Linked DNA regions of Homo sapiens: regions 1, 3, 4 and 5 are each linked to region 2. The links are contacts of gene promoters, found by promoter capture Hi-C in blood cells and fetal thymus (Javierre and others, 2016). All regions are on one chromosome and are shown on one strand. The core of a region is centred on a gene start or on the middle of the fragment in contact, and the rest is flanking DNA. Distances in the headings are between cores, read along the strand shown. Region 1 has its middle 13 kb from the start of ZDHHC22. Region 2 holds the start of SPTLC2 (serine palmitoyltransferase long chain base subunit 2). Region 3 overlaps POMT2 (protein O-mannosyltransferase 2). Region 4 overlaps TMED8 (transmembrane p24 trafficking protein family member 8). Region 5 overlaps CIPC (CLOCK interacting pacemaker).

Evidence for each region. The method cuts DNA at HindIII sites, captures the fragments that hold promoters and counts their contacts. A CHiCAGO score of 5 or more calls a contact.
Region 1: a contact is called between a fragment that was not itself captured here and the fragment with the promoter of SPTLC2 in region 2, in 4 of 17 cell types (total CD8 T cells, total B cells, naive B cells and 1 more). The highest score is 7.5, in total CD8 T cells.
Region 3: a fragment that was not itself captured here is called in contact with the fragment with the promoter of SPTLC2 in region 2 in 1 of 17 cell types (naive B cells); the score reaches 5.2 in naive B cells.
Region 4: a contact is called between a fragment that was not itself captured here and the fragment with the promoter of SPTLC2 in region 2, in 1 of 17 cell types (naive B cells). The highest score is 5.3, in naive B cells.
Region 5: a fragment that was not itself captured here is called in contact with the fragment with the promoter of SPTLC2 in region 2 in 4 of 17 cell types (total CD8 T cells, total B cells, non-activated CD4 T cells and 1 more); the score reaches 7.1 in total CD8 T cells.

What each region holds. Positions count from the first base shown.
Region 1 is chr14:77,127,361-77,130,060 of GRCh38, reverse strand. No RefSeq gene overlaps it. Among named protein-coding and RNA genes, the nearest start is that of ZDHHC22, 13 kb to the left of the region's middle. The HindIII fragment of the contact is 5,677 bases long and covers 1-2,700 here.
Region 2 is chr14:77,615,313-77,618,012 of GRCh38, reverse strand. It overlaps SPTLC2 (serine palmitoyltransferase long chain base subunit 2), which reads left to right and starts at 1,376. Exons shown (of 12, transcript NM_004863.4): 1 at 1,376-1,565. The coding sequence starts at 1,434. RefSeq lists silencers at 950-1,009, 1,340-1,389, 1,530-1,729 and enhancers at 1,049-1,581, 1,910-2,119. The HindIII fragment of the contact is 6,254 bases long and covers 1-2,700 here.
Region 3 is chr14:77,292,786-77,295,485 of GRCh38, reverse strand. All of the region lies in intron 9 of POMT2 (protein O-mannosyltransferase 2), which reads left to right. Among named protein-coding and RNA genes, the nearest start is that of NGB, 23 kb to the right of the region's middle. The HindIII fragment of the contact is 4,904 bases long and covers 1-2,700 here.
Region 4 is chr14:77,334,215-77,337,050 of GRCh38, reverse strand. It overlaps TMED8 (transmembrane p24 trafficking protein family member 8), which reads left to right. Exons shown (of 6, transcript NM_213601.3): 6 at 1-2,022. Among named protein-coding and RNA genes, the nearest start is that of GSTZ1, 15 kb to the right of the region's middle. The HindIII fragment of the contact is 9,857 bases long and covers 1-2,836 here.
Region 5 is chr14:77,104,874-77,107,650 of GRCh38, reverse strand. CIPC (CLOCK interacting pacemaker) reads right to left here. Exons shown (of 4, transcript NM_033426.3): 2 at 1,807-1,994. The coding sequence starts at 1,942. Among named protein-coding and RNA genes, the nearest start is that of CIPC, 8.0 kb to the right of the region's middle. The HindIII fragment of the contact is 1,677 bases long and covers 458-2,134 here.

The DNA of each region.
Region 1 (2,700 bases), core at 154-2,653, 490 kb after region 2:
ATACGGGGCCTGGAAAGATGGATGAGATTTCAGCAGGCAAAGAGGGACAGGGAGGGCTTTCCAGGGACAGAGAACAGGCCTGGGCCTTGGGGTATAAGGGATATCACAAAGAGGCAGAGGAGGTTAAGGCTGAGAGTAGGGACCCAAGCAGAGAGGGCTCTGAATGCCAAGCTAAGGGACCTGGAGGGCATTTGACAGGCAATAGGGAACCACTGAAAGTTCTGAGCAAGAGAGCAGCATGATCAGAGGTAGATTTCAGAAAGCGCAGCCTTGGAGGATAGACTGGAAGTGGGAGAAACTGGAGGTTGAGGGACCTGGTAAGAGGCATGTACTATATCTCAGTGAGATGTAACCGGGATCCGGGTGGGGATAGTGGTTGTGGGATGGTAAAGAGGGGAAAGATATCAGAGGCACTTCACAGACATGGAGCATGAGTAGAGGAATGCTAGGGAGGGGGCCCAAGATGGCCCTGAAGGTGAAAACGGGGTGATTGTTAGGAGGATTGGGGTGGAAAAGATTGTGACACTAGGGTTCAGGGCCATCTCATGCACTAGCCTCTGTCGTTGGCCCGTCAGATGGCAGTTGATGGTGTCATTCTTAACTAACCACTCTGCGTCCATGGAGGAAGGGGTTCAGGGACATCTGCCAGTCATTCTTTACAGCACAGCTCTCTGACTCCCACAGCAGGGGTAGAATCATCTGTCAGTGCCAATAGAGATCATGGGTCCTCAGGCCCATGTGCTGGAGTGAGATGCTTTCCATCCAGAAAGTGGGTACACTCTGCTTTGACCCATGCCCTAGTGTCAGATTAGGCAAGGCAGGAACTGCCTCACTCTAAGCTCCAGGAACCCAAGGAGTTTTGGAAAGACAACAAACTTGAGGAGACTTCAACCCAGGTCCCCCTCCACTGTAACAAGTCAGTCCTTAGGTCCCAGGGACCATCTGTTAGCCAGTCTTTCTCCTTAGGAAGATGACTGTCCTTGTTACTGTCCATGCATTTGGTCCTCCAAATACTGTGGCTTTTGTCTGTACCCAGTGTCCTCCAACTGGCCTCATTGCTCATGAGATTCCCCCTCATCTCCCTCCTGCCCTGCCTCTCAGCATGCCCTCGGGGATGCTTGGGAAGCAGCCCCTCCTGCCAGGAAGAAAAGGAAGGATGGGCAGGGAGAGAGGAGGCATTTCTCCTAACTTATCTGAGACACGTTAAAGATGAGGCAGAACCTTGGGCCTGCTCACCAGCCACAGTGAGCCTGCTGGTGGGGGCGGGAGGTGTCTGGGAGTAGCTCAGTTGCTCCTGGTGTTGGCCTCTGCTTCTGCTCTCATTCCCCTCTCTATTCATGGTACTGGCCCAGCTCCTCCACTCATTCTTCAAAAACATTCATCGATGCTGACTCTATGCCAGGCATGATGCCAAGAACCAGGAATGCAAAGATGAAAGAGACCCAGTACCTGATCTCAGGGAGCTCACTAGGAAGAGAACAAATTGCAGATGGTTGTGATTCAGTGGCATGAAAGTGCCGATGGGAGGACAGGGTGCTACAGAAGCCTGGCGGAGAGCACTTACTTTACCAGGGCGGACCTGAAGGCTTCCCAGAAAAGGCAACATCTGGGTCATGCAGGATGAATAGGAGGGGGCCAGGCAGAAAAGCAGGGCTGTGGGTGGGAGTGGAGGTAGGAGGGACTATACAGAGGCAGAGATACCAGGTGGTTTCTGGGAATTGCAAGTCTGCATTTAGGAATGGTGGGATGTGAGCACATACCTGCAGCCACAACTGCAGGTTTGTCCTCAGGCCACGCTCCCCATGGACCCTGCCTCCTTCCTCTGATCACTTCTTAGAAAACCCTAACTCACACCAGCTCATGGTGTCCGTTTGGATGAGTCAAGCATGAACTGATGTCTAGTTTTTCTAAAGGATCCGCAAGTCTCCAGGTTGGCGATCAAAGGTAGAAGGTTAAGTTCATTTTCCAGAGAATCAGCCCAAAGATGCTAGAGCTCACCTGGGAACATCAGAGATTCCTAGTCTTCTCTGGGCCCAAAGAGGGGTCTCTGGGAGCTCCCCATCACTCTTGCCTTCCTGCACAGCCTCAGCAAATGGCATTGGAAGGACACCATTCCTAGCAAGATGGCTTCCAGGACTTACAATAGAACTGGAAAGGCTGGAACCCTGAGATGTAAGCAGTGACCTTTTGTTATGTACAGTGCCCCATCTGGACTGGCAAGGCAGCTCTCTGCGTGGACCTCTGCACCCTGGTGGGCACCTCCCCACATCCTGTAACCTGGTGGCCCCAGCATGCCTCCTCCTTTAGCCTAGGCCCCTCCCAGCCCCTCCTCCACATCGCACTTCTCCATAGGACCTTTCTTCAATTGGTCCAGCCCCCTGGAAACCTTCTATTTCAAACTCCCACTACTGTTGGCAGCTCTCTGTCACTCTTACTCTCTCCTGTAGGTTTTGTCTCCTAACTACTGCATGCCCTTGGAAAGCAGAAATGGAGATGGTGGAATCCTTTAGTTTCCCCCTGTCCCTAGCATGGTGTAGGACACTAACATTGTTGATACAGTCATTCTACTGCTGGTAACAATGACCAAGATTTGCTGAGCCTTCCCTACATGCCAGGTGCTTGTCCTGTACACACTTTATCTGTATTAACTCATGTATTCCTCATAGCAATCCTACAAGGTATGTTTTATTATAACCCTGA
Region 2 (2,700 bases), core at 127-2,626:
TCTGTTAGATTATTCAGCTCCTAAGTCATGCAAAACCAATACCTTGTGGACCTCCTTTCTAAAGCTCCTGCAGGGTGGGGAAAGAATGCACGGATTCTCATAGGTGCATTTAGCAATTACTAGTAACCAACACTTAATGAATGCTTACTAATTGCTAGGTCCTGTACAAAATACATTACATACATAAACTTATTCAATCTTCACGACAACTATTATTGTCCCCACTGAACAGATGAAGACACATAGAGGTCACTCAGCTAGTAAGTGGCGCAGCTAGGATTTAAAACCCAGACCGACTCCAGAGTCCATACTCTCAATTATGATACTAAATTCTTTATGGATAACAGAAAGTCTCTAATTGTAATGTAGATCAATTTCCTTGCTTTCTAACCCCATGGGAAGATGGAACTAAAAGGGTGAGAAAATAATATTTATTATACTCCTACTATAAGCCTAGTATTATAAGAGGTGCATAATGGGTTAATGATATAATTCTTGCTGTAAGTCTATGAAGCAGGAAGTATTAACTCCATTTTAAAGAATTTGGCTTCTAAAGTGGTTAAACACAGTGCTCAAGTTTTAGCTTCCAGTTATTGGCAGAGTTGGAATTAGACCAGGTTTTCTAACTTTGAAGGAAAGACTTAATTTAAAGGAGACTGTATAGAAAACCCTGCCAAGGGCAAATGTGAAGGGCACGTGAAAAGGCATCTGAATTATTACTTATAATAATTCAGAAATAGTGAATGTGTGGCGCATATTGAAGAATGATGAGAGATTGTCAAAAAATCTATTCTATAAACACTCACAGAGGAATCAGCTAATTAAATAAGCGAGCTGCCTGTCTTGGGCTAGGACATAAACTCCAAAACTTCCCACGAGGCAAGGGCAAAGAGGGCGCCACCTGTCCTGGAGAACCTGGGAACCCGCTCTAGAGACTTCGGCTCAGCCCCTTTTATTTCCTCACACTCTAATTGGCTACTTTTCCCTGGGCTCCGCCTCCTCCTCGGTCTGGACCATTAAACAGGCAAGCCCTACCCCGGACCTGGATGCGGCCTCCAATCAGGTGCCAGGCCCTGGAGTCCCTCTAGAGAAGCCCCCTCTCCACCGGCGAGGCGCTTTGCTCTCGTCCGTGATTGGCCAGGCAGCAGCATGGGGTCCGCCTCCTTCTCTTCCAGATTGGTCAGCGGTCCTCAGGACCACATCCCTCTCGGCAGGTCCCCGCCGCTTTTTCCCTTCGCTGCGTGGCCTTGGCCGAGACCGGTCCTCTGCGGAGAGGGCCCCGCCCTCTGTGAAGGCCCGCCCGGGAATTGGCGGCGGCGCTGCAGCCATTTCCGGTTTCGGGGAGGTGGGTGGGGTGCGGAGCGGGACTTGGAGCAGCCGCCGCCGCTGCCACCGCCTACAGAGCCTGCCTTGCGCCTGGTGCTGCCAGGAAGATGCGGCCGGAGCCCGGAGGCTGCTGCTGCCGCCGCACGGTGCGGGCGAATGGCTGCGTGGCGAACGGGGAAGTACGGAACGGGTACGTGAGGAGCAGCGCTGCAGCCGCAGCCGCAGCCGCCGCCGGCCAGGTACGAGGGGCCCGCGCGGCGGGGCCGGGGTGGCGGTGTGGACTGGCGGAGGGGCGGCCGGGCGGGGCGAGGTCTCCGGGCCATCCGCTGGGCAATCCGCGGGGCGGGCGCCGTTCGCAGGTGTGGGCGGCAGTGTCCGGCCGCTGGCCCGACCTCCACGAGCCTGGAGGCTCAAGGACGGCTCGGGGGCTCCCCACCTCTCCGCGCCTGGAGGTCTTACTCCCGGAGCTCTGGGTTCTGCTCAGAGCTCCGGGTACTTTTCTCTGCCCCATTCTGCCAGAAGTGTGTGCTGTCCCCAGGGGAAGCGATGAGGGGCCCTTCGGACTCCAGTGGGAGCCGCCCAAGGGCTCCGGAGGGTCCCTTCTCAAACCCCTGAGGTTATTGCTTCCTTTTAAAGTCCTGCAGTCGTCCAAAGAAAACCACCCATGGGGTCCTTAAGAAGCAAAGAAAATTAGGCGGTGGTGTCAGATGGAAACACACCCAGCCTCTCCCAACCACATTCTGGACTACCACGTTCAGTCCCCAACCAGGACATTGGTCCATAGATCTGGCAGGGAATCCAAGCTGGTCCCTCGAAAGCATCATTCTCTTAACTCTGCCGGTGGTGAGACTCTACCCCAGGCTCCAGGTTGGATTAGGTGGCCCCTTCGACCCTTTCCTGAACACGAGTGCTATCACACAAGGGGATTGTTTAGCCTGGTGGTGACTTGCGATGACTCTATACTAATTAACCATGCTGAATCATCAACCAAGTTCAGGCAGTTCTAAAATATTTTGAAAAGTTCTAAATTCAAGACAATGCTTATTATCAACCTTACAGTGGTCTGGACTGACAGATATTCTGTTGAAATGTGTTTTTAAAGATGAGCTGGTTAAAAAGATGCAAGATCGGTGTTCCTGGAAGAGAGTGTTGCGATAATTTTGCAGTTGACTTTAATACGTTTAAGTCTTGTACAGATATTAAGGAACGCTTAGAAAGTACTCTGTTTCCCTTTAGCGGGAGTGTGACTGTTGCAGTTTGATAGGATGGTGATCTTAATTTGGCTTTAACATAACTACTCCCCAGATGAGTAGTTATGATGGATAGGTCTGTTACTGTTTGCTGCGAAGCAGAAAATAAAGCATTTTTCCAGGT
Region 3 (2,700 bases), core at 194-2,693, 320 kb after region 2:
TAATTTTTCGTATTTTTAGTAGAGACAGGGTTTCACCGTGTTAGCCAGGATAGTCTCGATCTCCTGACCTCATGATCCACCTGCCTCGGCCTCCCAAAGTGCTGGGATTACAGGCATGAGCCACCGCGCCCAGCCTGTATCCTCCTCTTTAAGTTGGGGAAAATGAGTAGTACCTCTCTCCATCAAAGGGCAGTTGTGAGGATTAAATGAGATAACAATGTGAAGTGCTTATGAAAGATTAGCCATGTGAGTATCATCTGAATGAGTGAACGATGCTGTGTCCATGTTAAGGAGTGTTTGTGTGGCTGCAGTGGATGGTGCCTGAGAGGGAGAAGCAGGATGCTGAAGAGGTTGGTGGGGCCATATTGGGGAGAGGCCTGTGTTATAGTAGATTTGACTTTGCTCCATAGACATTAGGGAGGCAATCAAAATTATTATGATTATGATTAGATCTCTAGTTTAGAAAGGTAACTTTAGTGGAAATGTGATAGCTCACAAGGAACCAGTTTGGAGGCAATAATTATGACAAAGGACAGTGAACAGAGGCAAAAAGCATGGAATCTTTACTTTGCAAAGATTTGTTCTTTGCAAAAAGTTGTCTCTCTCCAAATGCTTTATTTTTATTTCCCTTTTAGTTGCTAGAAAGTGACTCAGTATGTATTAGTGCAATTTCATGCTGCTGATAAAGACATACCTGAGACTGGGCAATTTACAAAAGAAAGAGATTTAATTGGACTTAAAGTTCCACATGGCTGGGGAGGCCTCACAACCCCGGTGGAAGGCAAGGAGGAGCAAGTCACATTTTATGTGGATGGCGGCAGGCAAAGAGAGAGCTTGTGCAGAGAAAATCCCATTTTAAAAATGGTTTTAAAAACCATCAGATCTCTGGCCAGGTGCGGTGGCTTATGCCGAGGTGGGCGGATCACTTTAGGTCAGGAGTTTGAGACCAGCCTGGCCAACATGGTGAAACCCCATCTCTACTAAAAATACAAAAAAATTACTCGGGCTTGATGGCACGTGCCAGTAATCCCAGCCACTCAGGAGACTGAGGCAGGAGAATCACTTGAACCGGGGAGGTGGAGGTTGCAGTGAACTGAGATTGCGCCACTGTACTCCAGCCCAGGCAAAAGAGTGAGACTCCATCTCAAAAAATAAAAAAATAAAACCATCAGATCTTGTGAGACCCATTCACTCGTGACTCAATCATCTCCCACCGGGTCCCTCCCACAACACGTGGGAATTAGAGGAGCCACAAGATGAGAATTGGGTGGGGACATAAAGCCAAACCATATTACAGGGTATTGGATTTTAGTATCAGTTTCTTATCCTTAATTCTCCATTCATGTCTGGCCCAGTGGTTTTCAGCCCTGGCTGCACTTAGAATCAACGGAGAGATTTTTAAAAATTCTGATGCCTGGACTCCACTGCAGAGATTATGATTTAATTGATCTAGGATGAGGCCCATGCATTATGCATTTTTGGTTTGGTTTTAAGCTGTCCAAATTATTCTAAGTCATGTACACCCAGGGCAGAGAAAACTAGATGTTCTGTGTTCTCATGTGTTGATAAATTGCTGCAGGTGTCATGTAGAAGACACTACAGTTACAGACCTGGTGACCAGAACATCTACACTGTGCAAAGGGAGAGAAAGGCCAAACTCTGAAAGGCTCTGTTAAGCTAGTGTTATGTACGTAGAGCCCATGTGTGGAGGTGTGAAACGTGATGGTGGTATAGGGAAAGTGCATTGCGCCAAGGGACGAAAGTGTCTGGCTTTGTCATTGACCAGATCTTTTAGCCTTTCATCCTGTTTCCTCATCTGTAAATTGAGGGGATTGGACTAAATAATCTCCAGTGGCCCTTCCTGCCATGCAGTTTAATGTCTTGTTAACATGTCTAGGTCTCTATTTTAGAATGTTTTTAAAGCATAGCATTTATAAAATTGGAAAATGTAGAAAAGTATAAAAAAGAAAACAAAAGCTACATGTAATCCCAGAAGATTAAGTGTTTATCTGAATGTTTTAATGTACAACATTCTGCTATAATTGGATACTTGTGTTCTTAGGAAATCTCATGGTATAAAAATCTCCATTGTCAAAACAAACATTTCAGTGGGAAAAGGGGCCATGGACTGTACTCATGATAAATAAATAATTTTTCTTGTAGGAATTTTAATCATAATTGCTCTTGTAAAACAGACACACAAAGACTGCTCTCCTACCACACATCTACACAGAGTACACACACGAGCATCATAGAACCTTAACTTCCTTGAGCAAATCCAGGCTGGATGGACGATATCGAGCTTTTTCTCAGGAATGTAGACTTCATTTTAATTTCTTTATGAGCACCAAAACTTTTTAGCTTCTTGTATATTCTTAATAACATTATCCCTAATTTTTTTTTCCTGAGGAACAAAGCAAATACCACTCAAAAGAAGCAGCCATAATGCAAGCAAAATAATTTTTCCCCTAAATGCTAATTCTAAATCTCTTTGTAAGTACAGTCATGCATCGGGGGGATACCTTCTGAGAAACAGGTCATTAGGTGATTTGATCGTTGGGTGAACATCATAGTATGTACTTACACAAACCTAGGTGGTCCAGCCTACCACACACCTAAGCTACATGGTATAGCTGATTGCTCCTAGACTACAAACCTGTATAGCATGTTACTGTACTGAATACTGCAGGCAGTTGGAAC
Region 4 (2,836 bases), core at 84-2,583, 280 kb after region 2:
AGTGTATATTGTCCCATTATAATATGTATATGGAAGAGTGAAATCTGAACGCTGTCTTATATTAAGCAGTAGAATTAGGTATTATCATAAAAAGTCTTAATCTGTAGGGAATATGAGTTTATGTTTATGAGTCCTGCTCAGTCCCTCTTTGAGAGAATTAGTTGAAACCCAGACTCTAAAGTCTGCTTTTATATTTGTTTGTTAAGACCACTTATCTGCAGAAGGTTGCCTTTTAACCCCAGTGGTTCTAAGGTGTGGAATTGAGTGACCCTAATATTTACATAAGAGACTTGTTTTAGTGGAGCATAAGGGAGGGGCATAAGTTACACCGTTTTGTGCTGCTTGAGAACTGTCTTTTAAAATTGATCACAACGAGGGAAAACAAAATAAAATTAGGGGGCAAAGGGTAGGAGTATGGGGGGAGGGGAGAGCAAACCTATCGAATATATCTTAGAATTTTGCTCAGAAATCACTGCTGCCTCTCAAGTGTTGCATTGTCCCTGCCTAAACCAAGAAGGCTAAACAAAGCCCCTCCTGTTTGAATTCTTAAGGTAAGAAATTTCTAAGCTAAGAAAACACTATTGCCTAAAACCAATGATAGTGGAGCTCATTTACAAATAGGCATGCCTCACACACACAGTCCAAAGGCAAGACACTGGCTTTGAAATTAGGCTCATGATGTGATTCCTATTATATGTACCTGATTTTTTTAGGCCCCAGGTATGTGGACCAGAGTTAATGTCATGACTCTTCAAAGATATGATGAAAAGTTGCCCTAGAAATCTAGAGATGCATGTTTATTTAATTCCATAGTTTAAAAAAAAATTTAAGCAGGTAGTTGTGGCTTATCTGGGGGCAAAATAATATATGTGAAATTGCTTCCAGAGGACAAAGTATATTTTCTAAAGTCCTGAAATAGGATCATGAACCCTTCTGAAGTTTTGGTTTGAAATATTATAGTATATGATATTACCAAAGAGCCCTTAATTCAGAGTTTAAGGGGCTCTCTTCCTGAACTCTCTTCATCACTCAGGGTTGAATGTGTAATGTTCCTTGCTATTGATTGTTATTGTTGATTCTTAGGATCAGGCCAAGAATCATCTGGAAAACATTATCTTAATTCCGTCTCTCATATCCTAAACAGTACATTTTACTAAGAAATTCCATATGAAAAACTCCACTCATGTCTCCTGAGATTATCCTGTAAGTGAAGTAGCTTTCATTTAACCAAGCTAAATTATTTCCATTTAGCCATGTTAAAGAGAAGCCAAGTCTAGAGAAAGCAATCCTGTAACCCATGAATCTGGTGTACCCATTTTCCCTTAACGTAACGGGAAGTGTTTTGAAATTCCCAGAAGAGAGCTGTTTTGTAATCAAAGTGATGGATTATAAGAAAGCCAGACTTTGGAAAAGGATAATTGGAATAAAGGGAGGTGCTTGAAGATTTTCCAAACTACTTTATGTCATTTAGCTTCTATTTTCTGAAGGGCTTTCTTTGGTGCCATGTACTCAGATCAGTCAGTTGACTGAAAGATGATCATGTTTTCTTCGTAAAGATTTAAGCAATTGGCAACTACAAAGACATTATTTTCTTACTGTTCTATATCATGTACTGTTGCTGACATTACAAAAAGGGTCTGGAAGGGAAACCGTGTCACTGTTTTATCTTTTTTCTTTAAAATACAAAAGTATCCCAACTAATCATTTATTATGGTCAGCTTGTTTTACATGTCCCCTATCATGAGAAATGCTATCAACATCTGTGATTTCTAAGAGTCTTACCAAATTGTTACTTTAATTCTTGTGTCCTGCTGAGTGGTTTTTCTTTTAAAATACCATTTTTATCACCCTGTGGCACTGGGTGTGTTACTGCGATTACACTGATGATTCTGAGCTGTGCTTCTTCAAGTAGCTCAGTTCTTGCGTTTTATATTAGGTAACAGTTTTGTGATGCTTTTGTGCATTCTTTGTCATCTCTTCTGAGTTTTCGAATCTGTCATAAATAAACTTTTTCACTATGCACCTGGTAACATCTGAGTTATATTTTAATGAACCTGATTTACATTTTAAATTCTTTGTCTTTCATGTATCTTCCTTAAGAAAGGTATTCTATAAGCCCATATGAATTATTTCATAATCTATTAAGATTGTGAAAGTTAAGAAGAACTAAAAAGAAAAAAAATTGAGAATAAGATTAATAATAGATCTTTCATCTGCATTTAAATTCATGGCAGAGTATCATGACCTGGGAACTGGGAATGGAAAAACTGGGTTTATAGTGATGATTAATAAGTTCTGAGTTTTATGTCAGCATTTGGTCCCAGTGAGGCCTGTTTCCCCATGAAGATATTCTGTTCAAATTTGGAACCTCGACTTCGGATACCAGGCCAATCATTAACGTAATCTGGGTGATATGAATTCAGCCTATTTTCATTTACAAAAAGTGACACCATAATATATCTTTGCTGTCTTTTAAAACACTGCCTCTCCACATCCCTAGTGTCTGTTGCAGAATAAGGACTCACATCTGAGCAGGGAAGGGTGGCATTTAAATATTTCCTTCAGTGATATCTGTGATGCTAAAATGAACCTGTTAGATCATTCTCTGCTTTCTGTTGCAACATATTTTAGAGGTTGAAGCATGAAAGAGAAGGGATCTGAAACAATTCAGTTGAATGTAATCACCAAACTACCCTACAAGTAACAAAAAGCCCAGGCAGATTCCATGTAGCTGGAGATCATTAATGATTCATGTTTGGGTATGCTGGATGTAATATGTCACTGTGAACACATAATATATTTAAGATTATTATTATTTTTTGAGATGGAGTCTCAC
Region 5 (2,777 bases), core at 47-2,546, 510 kb after region 2:
TGTGTGTGTGTGTGTGTGTGTGTAAAGAGAGCGAGAGAGAGAAAGCATATATGGCAAAAAGATAGACATATGGGGTATTCATTTGCTTTTGTATAGATTTGAAATTTTTTGAACTACAAATGTGGTAATTAAAATGGGAAAAATTGTCTTGATTTTGCAAATTTCATCCTACTCCAAGGTAACTGGAATAACTCAGGCAGTGAGGAAATCACTGGCACCTGGCCCAAGAGTGGCTCGAAGCATTCCAGTGGCATTCACTGGGGCTACTTTCTGGGGCATAATGAGTTTGATTATTTTAATACCACCTTATATCTGAGTAGTACAATATTCTTAAAACAACTGGCCTGACAAAGTTGAAGTTGTTAGAAGTGTCAAAATGTCAACAGTACTGGAAATAATAGATGGTAAGATTATGGATAATGTTTTTCTTCTTCATGCTTTCCTACCTGTCCAAGCTTTTACAATGAGCACGTATTCATGAAATGAAACATAAACAAAAAGCAAACGTGATATTAAAAGAAAAAAAGAGGCACTAGGCCTCCAGTGTTTCCCAAACCTGTCTGATCATACAACAGAAACACTTGTTTTTTAAAAGAACCCACATTCCAGGCCCTGTCCAGACCCTTGAAAGAGTCTCCAGGAGGGAGATCTGGTGATCAATATTTTTAACAAATGCCTCAGGTGAGCCTTATGATGAGGCAGGCTTAGGAAACAATGCTGAGAGAGAGAAGAAAAATCCAAAGGGAAGGTTGGCCCGCCCTTCCCTGGACTGTCCTGGCCCTGGGCAGGGCAACTAATTCCTTTTAATCTAATCCCTTGGTTGGCGCTCTGTTCCTCTTTGAGCAACGGTCTATTTATAATTTGCCTTTTCAAGCAGCATGCCTACAGGGAGAAAATATGCCAATCTAAAGACAAGAGAGTTCTAGTTTTCCTAACAGCTGCATTTCTCACTATAAGTTAATAAATCAAAATTGATTGATTTGTCTTTGTGAGTCTGGATAATATAAATCTTCTCCTTGAGAGGGTTCTACTCTCAGGATGTTGACTTGACCAGAATCCCTCAGCATCACCCCTCTGCATCCCCGCGCCAAAAATCACACTAGCGCCATATTCAAGCCACTACCCTCAGAGCGGGAAATAAAAAAAGAGCCCCAGCACAAAATTGAATGATTCAATATATATGCAGCTAGCCCTTTTGGGTAAGGTTTAAGAAAAACTTGTAAGGAAAACTGTTCTATTTTCTTATCTCTAATAGATACTCAAGTTTAGAGCTAGGCCAGGTGGCTCACAGTCCAAATACAAAATGCATAGAGACTGGGGGGAGGGGTTGTTGGAGGCGTACATTTCTAAACACAGCGAAACTACTTTCTCAATGAAAAAGTTACCTTACAAATTATATACAGTATTACTTTTATTTAACTGGCAGTCTTCCAATTTGTTACATGGAAACTACATGCAGTAGCAATTTTTCCCCTACAATGTAATAATTCCTGTGAAAAAGGAAGTAAAACAACAGAATTATGAGTATTTAAATATTTTTTCCAGTGACCAATTGCAATAGTTGGAAGTGTAAGATTCAGAGTCTAAGTTGAAAAAAGATGTTAAATAATTCTTTCAGAACTAACCCTGTGGTGACTTTGATGGGTACCCTGACATATGGCATCAGAATTACCATTTTAAAGCAGGTAAGTATTTATCCTGTGTGTGAAAGCATCCCATCCTTATCACATAAATGAGTTTTGGGGAGGAAATTTTTCACGCAAAGCATTCACTCACAAAACAGAGGAAGGATAAGATATTTTTAACCTGAAAAGCCAGAGTCCTTGTCTGACTCAGCAGCAGCCATCCCAAGCTGACGAGCCACTTTCTTCATCTCTGTGCCTTTGCCTACTTTGGCAGAGAGTCTTCTGGGGCTCTCTCTGGATGGGTTTTTCCTCTCCATGGTTTATTCAGCTGGAGGCAGATTCATTGGTACTCTTTTCATCTGGACTGCCCTATGAAAAACAATTATATAAGAAGTCACTGCCTGGAGAGCTGAAACAGGTGATCCAAACAGTGAATAAAGTATGGGCAAAGAACACTGGCCTCACCCACTTCAGCTTTATTTTCTCAGAGGTTTCAACTGACAAAAGCTTCAAGTTTACTAAACAGAATGGTTTCCACCCATAAGGAGATTCACAGTCCTCTGGCTGCCCTCTAATTCCATTACAAATTCAAGGCACACAAACCACATTCAGCATTCGCTTTGTAAACTGCTAACAAAGGCACATTTGATTAGGCTTTTTCCAATGGGTAACGAAATGAACTCACCAGAGGGGAGAGGGGACAGGGGAGTGAAGAGAAGGGAAAAGGAAGACAGGAGAAGAGAGAGGGCAGAAGGAGGGGGAGAGGGGAAAGGGGAGAGGAGAAAAGAGACACCGCAAGGCTTGCTTTCCTCGTGTACATTTGCAGGCTCATGACCTATTGCCACCTCCCACAGTGTTGTGTTTCTCAAATTAACCTCTAAATCCTTTGGCTGAGGTATTGAACAGAGAGCAAAAACAACTCCCTATACATGCATGCTACTTTTAGGCTTAAAAAACACTTTTATGGGCAAATAAAATCATATATAATAAAGAGCTTATAATATGCGTTGCTATTAGTGTTATCTCACTTGAGCCTCACAATGTCATCTTCAGTTGCTATCTCACTTTACAGGGGAGGAAACTGAGGCTCAGATAAGTTACATTCAATCATTTAAAAATATTTATCAAATGCCATTGTAAATCAGGCATTGT